2 separate regions of the Homo sapiens genome follow, and region 2 is linked to region 1. Evidence: promoter capture Hi-C in human tissues and cell types (Jung and others, 2019). All regions are on one chromosome and are shown on one strand. The core of a region is centred on a gene start or on the middle of the fragment in contact, and the rest is flanking DNA. Distances in the headings are between cores, read along the strand shown. Region 1 holds the start of ZNF121 (zinc finger protein 121). Region 2 holds the start of COL5A3 (collagen type V alpha 3 chain).

Region 1 (6,349 bases), core at 2,297-4,796:
CTTTCTGGTCCCCAAAGCACGAAGTACATACTGTCAGCCCTTATCAAACAAAGGTTGTCAGCTTCTCCTTTAGGCCAAAAACCCCGAGTTTGTAGGAAATCGCATGAAATAAAGGAATATTTACACACACCATGAGAATCCAATCAGAAATATCTGATTGTATGACTTTCTAAGAGAATGAGTGTTAGGAATAACGCTCAAAATCCTAAGGAAATTGAACACTCGAACAAAGGATTCTTAGCAAAGCAATTTTACTTCTGTGCAGAGGGGTGCCTCCTTGACCAGTTGCCATGAGAGCACACCTGAACAAAGGGGCATGAGAGCCTTTACTCCTGATGCAAGTCCTGCCCCTGTACCCTTTCCCTATTGGCCGGGGTCAGGTCGTACAATCTAAACTAATCCCGGTTGGTGAAACACCTGATTTTTTTTAGATAGGGTGGGCACGTAGAAGAAAAGTGGAGAGGAAGGGGAAGGGATGTCTGTAGTGAGCTAGAAAGTCCTCTTTCTAAGTAAGGAAAGGTATGTGAGCTGGTACTGATAACGCTTTGTACTGTGGCATGCCTGGGCATCTAACAAAGGCAAAAAGGAGAAAAAAGGAGAAAAAGGGGGGGTACTATGAATTAGAGAATAAAAGATTGATGAGATTATTTGAAGAGAAACCTCATCATATCCTCATATCCCACAGTGTGACTCTCCAAAAGTCAATATAATATACAATAATAACTGTTCTAGGTAAAAAGACACTGAAAACATTAACAATTGCAATGTAAAAATCTTGAATGGATCTTAAACCCAAAAACATCCAAGAGCATACGTTGAATCAATGCGGAGAATTTTAGTTATTATAAAAAGCAGACATTAGATGACATTATTATTTTTTATTTAAGTGAAATACTAGTATTGTGGTTTCAGAATGACAGTGCTATTTTTTTAGGCGATGCATTACCAAGTATTTAAAGGTCAAGTATCACGTGTGCAATTATGCTCAATTTACACTCAAATTGTTCACCATAAAATGTATTTACCTGAGGTGAAAGAAAACAAGCACAATGCTCAAAAAGTAAGTGTTCAGGCACAGTGGCTCACACCTGTAATCCCAGCATTTTGGGAGGCCGAAGCAGGTGAACTGCCTGAGCTCAGGATTTCGAGACCAGCCTGGCCAACATGGTGAAACCTTGTCTCTACTAAAATACAAAAAAAAATTAGCTGGGCATGGCGGCATGTGCCTGTGTCCCAGCTACTAGGTGTCAGGCCTCTGAGCCGAAGCCAAGCCATCAGACTCCCTGTGACCTGCACGTATACATCCAGATGGCCTGAAGCAACTGAAGAACAACAAGAAGAAGCGAAAATAGCTAGTTCCTGCCTTAACTGATGACATTCCACCATTGTGATTTGTTCCTGCCCCAACCTAACTGATCAATTGACCTTGTGACATTCCTTCTCCTGGACAATGAATCTCAGGAGCTCCCCACTGAGCACCTTGTGATCCCCGCCCCTGCCCGCAAGAGAACAACCTCCTTTAACTGTAATTTTCCACTATCTACCCAAATCCTATAAAACTGCCCGACCCCTATCTCCCTTTGCTGACTCCTTTTCTGAACTCAGTCTGCCTGCACCCAGGTGATTAAAAGCTTTATTGCTCATACAAAGCCTGTTTGGTGGTCTCTTCACATGGACGCACCTAATGCTAGGGAGGCAGGAGAATTACTTGAACCTGGGAGGCAGAGGTTGCAGTGAGCCGAGATCGCACCTCTGCACCCCGACCCGGGTAGCAGAGCGAGACTCTGTCTCAAAAAAAAAAAAAAAAAAACTACTAGACTGGGTGTGTTAGATGTTCAAGTTTTCCCTAGGATCAAATTTTTCAGAAAAAAATGTCAAAACTACACTTAGTCTAAACATGCTGTTAATAAATTCAATAGATACTACTTTATTACACTAATACTAGAATAATATTCTGATTATAAAGCCTCCATCCTGGCCAGGAGCGGAGGCTCACGCCTGTAATCCCAGCTCTTTGGGAGGCCGTCAGGCGGATTACAAGGTCAGGAGTTCGAGACCAGCCTGGCGAGCATGGTGAAACCCTGTCTCCACTAAAAATACAAAAAAAAAAAATTAGCTGGGCATGGTCCCCATGCCTGTTGTCCCTGCTACTCGGAGGCTGAGGCAGGAGAATCACTTGAACCCAGGAGGTGGAGGTTGCAGTGAGCTGAGATCGCGCCACTGCACTCCAGCCTGGGCGACAGAGCAAGACTCCGTCTGAAAAAAACAAACAAAAGCCTCCATCCTTTCTTCCTGTGGGCCCGTTTTGAAGCTCTGTGGGGGGGTACAGACCTAGGAACTTCAGATAAAGACAACAGCTGTGTATTATTGCCTTTCTTTCTTTTTTGAGACGGAGTTTCGCTCTCATCGCCCAGGCTGGAGTGCAGTGGCAGATCTCGGCTCACTGCAACCTCGGCCTCTCAGGTTCAAGCAATCCTCCTGCCTCAGCCTCCCAAGTAGCTAGGATTACAGGGGACTGCCACCAAGCCTGGCTTTTTTTTTTTTTTTTTTTTTTTTGTGTGTGTGAGACGGAGTCTCCCTCTTTTGCCCAGGCTGGAGTGCAGTGGCGCGATCTCGGCTCACTGCAAGCTCCGCCTCCCGGGTTCACGCCATTCTCCTGCCTCAGCCTCCCGAGTAGCTGGGACTACAGGCGCCCGCCATCGCGCCTGGCTAATTTTTTGTATTTTTAGTAGAGACAGGGTTTCACCATGTTGGCCAGGCTGGTCTCGAACTCCTGACCTCAGGTGATCTGCCCGCCTCGACCTCCCAAATGGCTGGGACTACAGGCGTGAGCCAGCGCGCCCAGCCTGCCTTTCTTTTGTAGAAAGGCTTGTAGCTGGTAACAACAAAAAACATTAAGTCCAAGAAAATAAAATAAGAAACTAAAGGCTCACAGTCTACACGTGTTCATATTTACATGCAGATATAGGCACACCCTAAACGACTATTTTTTTTCCATCAGAAAGTAATGTGTCAAAAATAAGAATAGGACATCAATGCCAGATTCTCAGACGAGACATTTTTAAGCAAAGAAATGGAAGTCAGAGCCCTCTTGAAACCAATTTTCTGCAGGTGTTCACCAGGAACATGCCGGAAACGCCAGGTTCCTGAGGCGCGGAAATGCGGGGCCGGAGCCAACCTGACTGGAACGGCAGAAATCCTTTTACTTTCAGAAAGAAAGAAACTCACAAAGGTTGCTTTCCAAGCTTTTGAAGAAGGGAGCACAGCGGATGAAACCACTCCAGAAAACGCGCGGAGTCGGGACAAACACACTTCCCGACCTGGCTCCTGACTGGGACCCACTGAGCCTGCGGCCTCTAGCCACTGGCCGCGCAAGGAGGACCGACAGCCCCTGGAGAAGAGAGTGAAACGAGGCGGATCGGAGAGGCTCCTGGGCGACAGCACCCAATCGTTCCTTTGCCGCCCCCCGCTATCTCCGGGATCCCCAAGCAGGCGGAACTCACCACAGCCAGGGTGGACTCCACCACGATAAAGGCGAAATGGCACTGACCATGCGGAGCCAGCGCCGGAAAAGATGGCGATTGTGCGCTGACGTCACTTCCGCTCCGAGCCTCGGGCCGGGCGGGGCTCCTGGGTTCGAGTTTCAGCCACATAGGACCCAGTCAAACACAGAAATTGTAGTTTCTTCCCGGGTGGGCGCGGACAGGCCCTTACTTGGGGGCGGTTTAGAGGTGGGACCCGGCTAGCCGGCGGTTCAGGTGGCCGGACCTGCTGGAAGGGCGGGCGTGGGGGATGGGACGCACCCCAGGGGATGCTCCTGCAGAGCTTTTCCCAGGTGGGCACAGTGGCTAAGGCCTGTAAGTCCAACACTTTGGGAGGCTAAGGCAGGTGGATAGCTTGAGTCCAAGAGTTCAAGACCAGCGTGGGCAAAATAGCAACATCCTTTATTAAAATATATATGTGTGTATACATATATATAAAGCTTGTTTGTATACATCTCATGTTCCTAGAGCCTTTCCATGATTCTTCCATATGGATAAAGCTGCCAGTGAATGGCATGGTCTATCTCTTCTATTCAGTCAGGCTTTCTGTAGGCCTTTATTTCTTCATTCTTTATTTTTTAGAACCTGCTGGTTCCATTGCGTTTTCTTTTTTCGTTTTTCTTTTTCATTTTTTATTTTTTTTTGAGACAGATCTCACTCTGTTGCCCAGGCTGGAGTGCAGTGGCATGACCTCGGCTCACTGTAACCTCTGCCCCCCGGGTTCAAGTGATTCTCCTGCCTCAACCTCCCGAGTAGCTGGGATTACAGATGTCTGCCTCCACGCCCAGCTAATTTTTGTACTTTTAGTAGAGAAGAGTTTCACCATGATGGCCAGACTGATCTCGAACTCCTGACCTCCAATGATCTGTCTCCCTCAGCTTCCCAAAGTGCTGGAATTATAGACATGAGCCACCGCACCCGGCCACGTTTTCAATATAATAATATTTTCTGTAAATCTTGATTTTTTTTTGTCTTCATCAAGTATGTATTTCTGGCTGGGTATGGTGGCTTATGCCTATAATCCCAGCAATTTGGGAGGCCAAGGGATCGTTTGAGGCCAGGAGTTTGAGACCAGCCTGGGCAATACAGCAAGACCCCGTCTCTGTTTAAAAAAAATTTTAAATATGTTTTTGTTTTTGTTTTGAGATGGAGTCTAGCTCTGTTGCCCAGGCTGGAGTGCAGTGGCACGATCTTGCTCACTGCAACCTCTGCCTCCCGGGTTCAAGCGATTCTTCTCTCTCAGCCTCCTGAGTAGCAGAGATTACAGGCAGGCGCCGCCATGCCCGGCTAATTTTTGTATTTTTAGTAAAGACAGGGTTTCACCATATTGGCCCAGTTGGTCTCGAACTCCTGACCTCATGATCCGCCTGCCTCACCTTTCCAAAGTGCTGGGATTACAGATGTGAGCCACCACGCCTGGCCAAAAACATGTATTTCTATTGTTATTTTTCTGATCTTCCCACATGGGCCAGGACCACATTTCCTACATTGTAAAATAGCACTGACACCAGACATTCTCCCCAGGTTTATTCAGAAATGTAACATAATCCCAGTAAAAATATTAAAAGTTTTTTCTGGAGTTAGGTACGTTGATACTAAAGTTTATGTGGAAGAATAAATATCTGATAATAACCAAGAAAACAAAAACAAAAGCAATGATGAGCAGCAGATGTTAAAACATACTATTAACAGTTTTCACACAAGGCAAATAATTAAATTATATTAAAATAAAAATAAATAAGACATACTATAAAGCCTCTATAATTAAAACTATGTGGTACTAGCACATGAAGCAGAAACAGACTAATAAAATATCTAAAAACAGACCCAAGAACATGTAGGAATTTGGTTCATAAATGTGGTATTTTGCCAGGCGCGGTGGCTCATACCTGTAATCCTAGCAATTTGGGAGGCTGAGGCGGGAGGATCACCTGAAGTCAGGAGTTCGAAACCAGCCTGTCCAACATGGTGAAACCCTGTCTCTAATAAAAATACAAAAATAAAATTAGCCAAGCATGGTGGTGGGCTTTCTGTAATCCCAGCTATTCGGGAGGCTGAGGCAGGAGAATCGCTGAAACCCAGAAGGCAGAGGTTGCAGTGAGCCGAGATCGCGCCACTGGACTCCAGCCTGGGCAACAAGAGTGAAAATCCATCTCAAAAAAAAAAAAAAAAGGTATTTCAGATCAATGAGGCAAAAAAAGCCATTTGTAATGGAAAGTCTAAGACAGCTGGGTAGCCATCAGAGAAAAGATGAAATTAAATCCATACTTCACAGCATATACAAGAATAAACTCTAAATGGACTAGGGATCTAAATGTGAAAAATAAAACCATATACGCATTCAGGGTGTAAGTGATTTCTTGGCTGAGTAAGGAAAAAGACGTGACCACAAGGCGGCAGTAGCACACAAGCTTCATTTGGGATGTGCTTTGACAGGTAAGGAGTGGCGGGAGGTAGCAAACAGCAAGAGAATATCCACAGGCTTCTACCTGTGGGTCGCTGCTCAGAAAGGGTGGAAAGGAAGAAAGACTCCCAGAGGAGAAGGGGAATCAAAGAGGGGGCTTATATGACTAAGTGACGATGCTCAGCAGCCTGGCAGCATATCTTCCAGTTAAAAAGTTCTGAAGGACAAGTCTGGCCAACATGGTGAAACTCCGCCTCTACTAAAAATACAAAAATTAGCCGGGCATGGTGGCGGGCGCCTGTAATCCCAGCTACTCGGGAGGATGAGGCAGGAGAATTGCTTATACCCGGGAAGCGGCGGTTGTATTGAGCCAAGATCGCGCCATTGCACTCCAGCCTGGGCG
Region 2 (6,753 bases), core at 61-2,560, 430 kb after region 1:
GTGTGTGTGTGTTGGGAGACTGAGCTCACCTTAGAAAGGGATTTCCAGGAGGACCTAGTCTAGGGTCTCTCAGATCAGGGAAGCCCCATCTCCAACACTTGAGAAGCTACGCCATCCCCTGACTCCCGAAGCGCCCCCCACTCTGAACCCTGAGGGGCGGGACAGGGCGCCCAGCCAGATGCGCGCAGCTGGGCGTGCGTCAGCGCTGACTCACCCATCCGGCGGCCCCCGGGACCCCTTGGGGGCTCCTGAGAAATTCCTCGGGAAAAACACCCAAGGCTCCAGCAGCTGGGGTGGGGAGGGGGGGAGCAACTTCCACTCCTGCCCCGCCCTGCGCCCCGCCCCGTCTCGCCCCTCACCGCGGCCCTCCCCGAAGCCCTGTCCATGGTGCTGATCGCGGCTCTGGGGACCGCGGGGTGGGGGAGGGGGCAACAGGGAGGGAGGGGAGGAGATGGGCGCTCGCCAATTTGGGGCAGAGGAGGAAAAGGGAGAATGAGGTGAAGCCATTTAAAGAGACGCAAAGGAAACTGTGGGTTCCCGAAGAGCACCCCCCAATACTTGTCCCCACCCACCTTCATCCTCATGGGCAATTATTTGCACCCAAAAATCATAACTACACCCCTCATAGCGGCACTCAGAGACACACAATCACACGCATAACCACTCACACGGTTACCCTCGAAAATCAGCACATAGACAAGAGCACAAGTGCATACTCACCTGTCGCAATACACACCGTCCCAGCACTGCCCTGTCACTCACAGTCACACTATCACCATCAACCTCCACACGCAAGCACATACGCAACTTCACTCCAAATGCACACACATGCTACACACACATACACACATGCACACACCTGCACATTGCATGCATTCCCACGCGCTCGCCAGAAAACGCACTCACACATCCCCACCCCCACCCCGAGCTGTCACACCCACAAATCACCCAGAGTCAGATACTCATGCGCCCACATCACACCGGGGCCGCACGCGGCGCCCACGCCCTTCCCCTCCACGCCCCTCCACCCCCCTCCACCCCTCGCTCTTTTAGAGCCTCTCTGAGTCGTGGACCCTGGGTCCCATCTCTTCCCTCCCGGCTCACCGGCCTGCGTCCCCGGCAGAAGCTGCAGCGCGGCCAGGAGCAGGCAGAGACCGGCCCGCGGCTGGCCCAGGTCCCGGCGGTTCCCCATCCCGGCGGGGCCCACGGGCAAGGCGGGGAACCAGTCGGGGCGGCTGCGGGGCGCGGCGACTTCTCGGGCTCGGTGCAGTCACTCGCGGCGGCCGCTCCTCTCAGGGTCCGCGGGAAACTGCCCGAGACCCCGCCCTGGCCTCGCCCTGCGCTCCAGCGCCTGGCCAGGCGGGGCTTTTTGGAGGGGGAGCGCTGACAGCTGGACTGGGAAGTTGGGAAACTTTGTGCTGAGGGCTGATTGGCTGGCTGGGGTGGAGCCCAGCGCCAGGAGCTGGGTTGTTCCTGCCCCACCCCACTGTGGAGGAGAAGGGTCACTCCCACCCAGCCCTAGAGTTCGAGGGTTCCAGTCTTACCCCAAACCTTTTCCGCCTAGCAGATCCCCTCAAAGGAGACCTTAACCTCATTCAAGACTTCAGCCTCCATCCAGGCCCTAGAATTAGGAGGAGGTGCAGCTTTATACCAAATCTTTTTTATTTTCTATTATTTTTACATTTTATTTTGGAGACAGGGTCTTGATCTGTCACCCAAGCTGGAGTGCAGTGGTGCAATCATAGCTCACTGCAGCCTCCAACTCCTGCGTTCAAGCCATCCACCTGCCTCAGCCTCCTGAGAAGCAGGTACCACAGGCACACACTGCCACACCCAGCTAATTTTAAAATATGTATATTTTGTAGAGACCGGGATCTTGCTATGCTGCCCAGGCCGGTCTTGAACTTCTGGTCTCAAGCGATCCTCCGGCCTTGCCCTCCCAAAGCGCTGGAGTTACAGGCATGAGCCACCGCCCCTGGCACCAAGTCCTTTCTGCCTCACTCAGGCCCCCAACTGGGGTCCCAACCTCACCCCGAACTCTCACTCACCTACCTGCTTTATCCTCAGTCCCTCAGCTGCACAATAGGAGGTACCAGCCTCAGCCCCAAAGCCTTTCCTTCAAGTCCCTAACGGGTCCTCATCCCACCTCAAATCTCACCCCAGATCCCAAAATGGGGTCCCCAGCCTTACTCCAAACCTTCATCTGTCCACTCAAATCCCTAAGTCACGTGTCCTGGTCCCAAATTCTCACCACAGATCCCAAAACACAGTTTTCACTTTCCCCAAATTCTTGATTCCTCAAATAAAGGGTCTCATCTCCATCCCTAACCCTCATCTCCCCCCGCCCCAACTCAGGTCTCCAGTGGATGCCCCGGCCTCAATCCCAAATCCCCACCAAATGAGGGAGTCTGAGCTGGGTGCGGTGGCTCATGCCTGTAATCCCAGCATTTTGAGAGGCTGGGGCGGGCAGATCGCTTGAGTCCAGGAGTTAGAGATCAGCTGGCCAACATGGCGAAACCCCATCTCTACTAAAAATACAAAAATTAGCCAGGCATTGTGACTGGCGCCTGTAGTCCCAGCTACTTGGGAGGCTGAGGTGGGAGGATCACTTGAACACGGGAGGTGGAGGTTGCAGTGAGCTGAGGTTGTGCCACTGCGATCCAGCCTGGACAACAGAGCAAGACTCTGTCTGTCTCAAAAAAAAAGGCCGGCGCGTTGGTGGGAGGTGGTGGGAATCTGTCCCTGTCGCAAAGCAACGCACAGCCACTGGGGAGGAAGGGGTGGATTCTTGCCATTCTTGGGATGAGGCAGAGGCCCCCCTCACCGTGCTGGGACCCCCACCTCCAGCATGAAGAGGCCCCCATGAGGTCAAATAGAGCTTTTATGCAATTGGACAAGCGCAGACACGCAGGATGTGAGGGTGTTTCCCCAGGGAGGGGAGGAACCAAGAGGCGTATTCTGAGCCCTGAACTGCTCCCCGAACCCTGCTTCCCCCACCTCCGCCCCAGGGGAAGAGGGAGACGCAAGCAGTGCCTCCCTCCCAGCCTCTGACTCCCCAGACAAAGAGTCTCTGTGTCCCTGAAGAGGAGGGGTTGGGGCCCCATCAAGCCTGAGGGGGAGATGGGGGCCCCCCAGGGTGGGAGGAGGAGAGGGTATCTCTGTAAGCTGTGCCTCCTCCCACCCCAGGGACATCTGAGGCTGAGACTTCTCCAACTAAAAGACTCTCACAAAATTCCTGCCCTGCCCTGCCTTGCTGGAAGTTCTTCCTATAGTCTAACTACATCTTCTGACAGTTCTACACCCCTTCCCTCTATGAAACACTTCTGGATCCACATTCTCTGTCTCCTTCTCTCACTCTCTCCCTTCAATCAGAGATTCTTCACCCAGAATACAGACACTAATTCCCCCCAACTTTCACAGAAACTCTCCCCAGCCCTAAATAATTTATACTCGGCCAGGCTCAGTGGCTCATGCTTGTAATCCCAACACTTTGGGAGGCTGAGGCGGCTGGACCACTTGAGGTCAGGAGTTCAAGACCAGCCTGGCCAACATGGCGAAACCTCATCTCTACTAAAAATACAAAAATTAGCTGGGTGTGGTGGCACACGCCTGTAATCCCAGCTACTCAGGAGGCTGAGGCAGGAGAATCATTTTACCCTGGAAAGCTGAGGTTGTAGTGAGCCGAAATTGCACCACTGCACTCCAGCCTGGGTGACAAGAGCAAGACTCTGTCTCAAAATAATAATAATAATTTACAGTCATAATAAAAATTATAAATTAAGAAAACAGTTACAAATGGCCAAGGCAGGAGGATCACTTGAGGCCAAGAGTTCGAGACCAATCTGGGCAACATAGCAAGATCCCATGTCTAAAAGAAAAAGAAATTTAAAAATTAGCTGGGCATGGTAGTGTGCGCCGGTAGCCCCAGCTACTCTGGAGGCTGAGATAGGAGGATCGCTTGAGGCTGTGGTGAGCTATGATGGTGCCACTGCACTCCAGCCTGAGTGACAGAGCAAGATGCTGTCTCTTAAAAACAAACAAACAAAAACCAGTGATGTCTATAGTAGGTGCGGAGAAGAAATGTTTGGCAGATGAAGAAAATGAGGTGCAGAGAGGATTTAAGAGATTCTCTCTTACTGCCTGTTCAGGGTCAGTCCAGAATTGAGGGTCTCCGGGGGAGGGCAGAGGCTTTGCCCTGCAGGGGATCTGTGGGAGGGGGTTAGGAGGGAGCAGATGAGCCCAGGATGAATGGTCAGAGTCAGGTGCTGCCCGGCGGAGGTCACGAGTCCAGGGAGGGGATCAACATGGCCGCTGCACCCCGGACTGTGTTGATCTCCGGCTGCTCATCAGGAATTGGTCTGGAACTTGCAGTGCAACTGGCCCATGACCCCAAGAAGCGCTACCAGGGTAAGAAGTGCAGGGTGGCACTAGGAGGCAGCCGGGTGGAAACGGCTTCCCCAGCACTGTCTCCCCTACCCATCCCTCCCAGCTGCACTTGTGGGCTTGGGGAGACCCAGGATTCCCTCCAGGAATCATCCCCTCATCCTAGAAATATTTCTTGAGCATCTTCTGGGTGCTCTGAATGCTGGCAACACAACTGGAGATGAAATAGACAAAAATCTCAGCCCTCAGGACGGGTGTCATGTGGGGAGGAGAGGGAGAATGGGTGATAAACAGATAAAAAGAAATTGTTGCTCTATCTGGTGGGAATAAGTGCTGAGACACAAAATAAAGCATGCTGAGAGTGGCAGGGGGTGGGTGGGGGTTATTTTTAGAAGGGTTTCACTAGGGCATTTCCTAGATTGGAATAATCACTACCCTGATGCTCACTCTTCCACGTCTCCCCAGATTATTGCTTTTACTGAGATAAGCTTCTTAAGTGCTCCTGACCTTGGGGGTTGAAGGGATGGCCTTCTAGTTCTAAGAACTTGCCCTTCTGCACCTCTAGAATAAATCCCTGGGACCTGCATCCTAACCAACCAGGAGAACCCCTGACCCAGAGGGAGCATGCTGGAGTCAAAGTGGGCAAAGGGTTGTTACTTACAAAGAGGCGACTGGGGGTGAGGGCATTGCCCCAGTTGGCAGGGCTGCTTCTCCCAGCCCTCTGCCCTCTGTTTTAGAGACGCACACAGCTTTGAGCATGACAGCCTGAATGCCAGTGTGCAGGGAATAACGTGTGTCCCTATGGGCGGGCAGATGGGTGTATGAAACTGCTGGAGGCTAATGTTTATGGAGCTTTTACAATGCACCAAGCTGCATTCTAAGTGCCCTGAATCCAGGAAGTCATTTAATCCTCACATCACACCCGTGAGGCAGGCACAATCATTCACCCCATTTTATTATTATTTTATTATTTATTTATTTTGAGTCAGAGTCTTGCTCTGTCACCCAGGCTGAGTGCAGTGGTGCATCTTGGCTCACTGCAGCCTCCACTTCCCACGTTCAAGTGATTTTCATGCCTTGACCTCCCGAGTTTCTGGGATTAAGGCATGCACCACCACACCCGGCTAAGTTTTTGTATTTTTAATAGACAAGGTTTCACCATGTTGGCCAGACCGGTCTCGAACTCCTGGTCTCAGGTGATCTGCCTGCCTGGGCCTCCCAAAGTGCTGGGATTACAGGCATGAGCCACCGTGCCTGGCCTGCCCTATTTTAGAAATGAGGAAACTAAGGTGCAGACTGTGAAAGGTCTTTGCTCAAGGTCTCCCAGCTGCAAAGTAGCAGAGCTGGGATTTGAACTCAGGCAGCCCATCCCTTGCACCCATGTTTCCCACTATATCACATGTAGATGCAAGTGACCCCATTCACGTGCCTGCTACCCACAAATCACACTGACCCGAAGACAAGAGGCAAATGCCCCCAGGAGTGTTCATGGGTGATTATGGGTGCACACATTGGGGGATATCAAACACGTATGCTGGTGCATGTGCAGACATAGTACATATGCTGAGGTCCTGCTTAAGAACATAAGCTTGAGGCTGGGCACAGTGGCTCATGCCTGTAATCTCAGCACTTTGGGAGGCCTAGGTGGACAGATCACCTGAGATCAGGAGTTTGAGACCAGCCTGGCCAACATGGTGAAACCCCGTCTCTACTAAAAATACAAAAAATTAGCCAGGCGTGGTGGTGGATGCCTGTAGTCCCAGCTATTCGGGAGGCTGAGGCAGAAGAATGGCGTGAACCTGTGGGGTGGAGCTTGCAGTGAGTCGAGATCATGCCACTGCACTCCAGCCTAAGCGACAGAGCATGACTCTGTCTCAATAAATAAATAAATAAATATACAAAAATTAGCCAGGCATGGTGGCAGTGCCTATAATCCCAGCTACTTGAGAGGCTAAGGCAGGAGAATTGCTTGAACCGGGAGACAGAGGTTGCAGTGAGCTGAGATTTCACCACTGTATTCCAGCCTGGGCACCAAGAGCGAGACTCCGTCTCAAAAAAAAAAAAAAGGGCATAAAAGCTTGGCCAGGTGCTGTGGCTCTCTGGCTCCTCACGCCTGTAATCCCAGCACTTTGGGAGGATGAGGTGGGCAGATCACCTGAGGTTCGAGACCAGGCTGACCAATATGGTGAAACCCCGTCTCTACTAAAAATACAAAAGATTAGCCAGGTGTGGTGGCAGGCACCTGTACCCCTGTAATCCCAGCTACTCGGGAGGCTGAGGCAGGGGAATTGCTTGAACCCAGGAGGTGGAGGTTGCAGTGAGCCGAGATTGCACCCCTGTACTCCAGACTGGGCAACAAACAAGAGTGAA

Evidence for each region. Contacts are between HindIII fragments. The study calls those that stand out against the background at their distance.
Region 2: a contact is called between the fragment with the promoter of COL5A3 here and the fragment with the promoter of ZNF121 in region 1, in 1 of the 25 tissues and cell types used here (heart left ventricle).

Annotation. Positions count from the first base shown.
Region 1 is chr19:9,580,958-9,587,306 of GRCh38, forward strand. It overlaps ZNF121 (zinc finger protein 121), which reads right to left and starts at 3,547. Exons shown (of 4, transcript NM_001008727.5): 1 at 3,504-3,547. RefSeq lists enhancers at 685-1,498, 1,499-2,311, 3,126-3,937. The HindIII fragment of the contact is 2,529 bases long and covers 2,439-4,967 here.
Region 2 is chr19:10,009,194-10,015,946 of GRCh38, forward strand. It overlaps COL5A3 (collagen type V alpha 3 chain), which reads right to left and starts at 1,311. Exons shown (of 67, transcript NM_015719.4): 1 at 1,105-1,311. The coding sequence starts at 1,192. RDH8 (retinol dehydrogenase 8) reads left to right here and starts at 4,290. Exons shown (of 6, transcript NM_015725.4): 1 at 4,290-4,407. The coding sequence starts at 4,305. RefSeq lists an enhancer at 4,911-5,080. The HindIII fragment of the contact is 11,359 bases long and covers 1-5,421 here.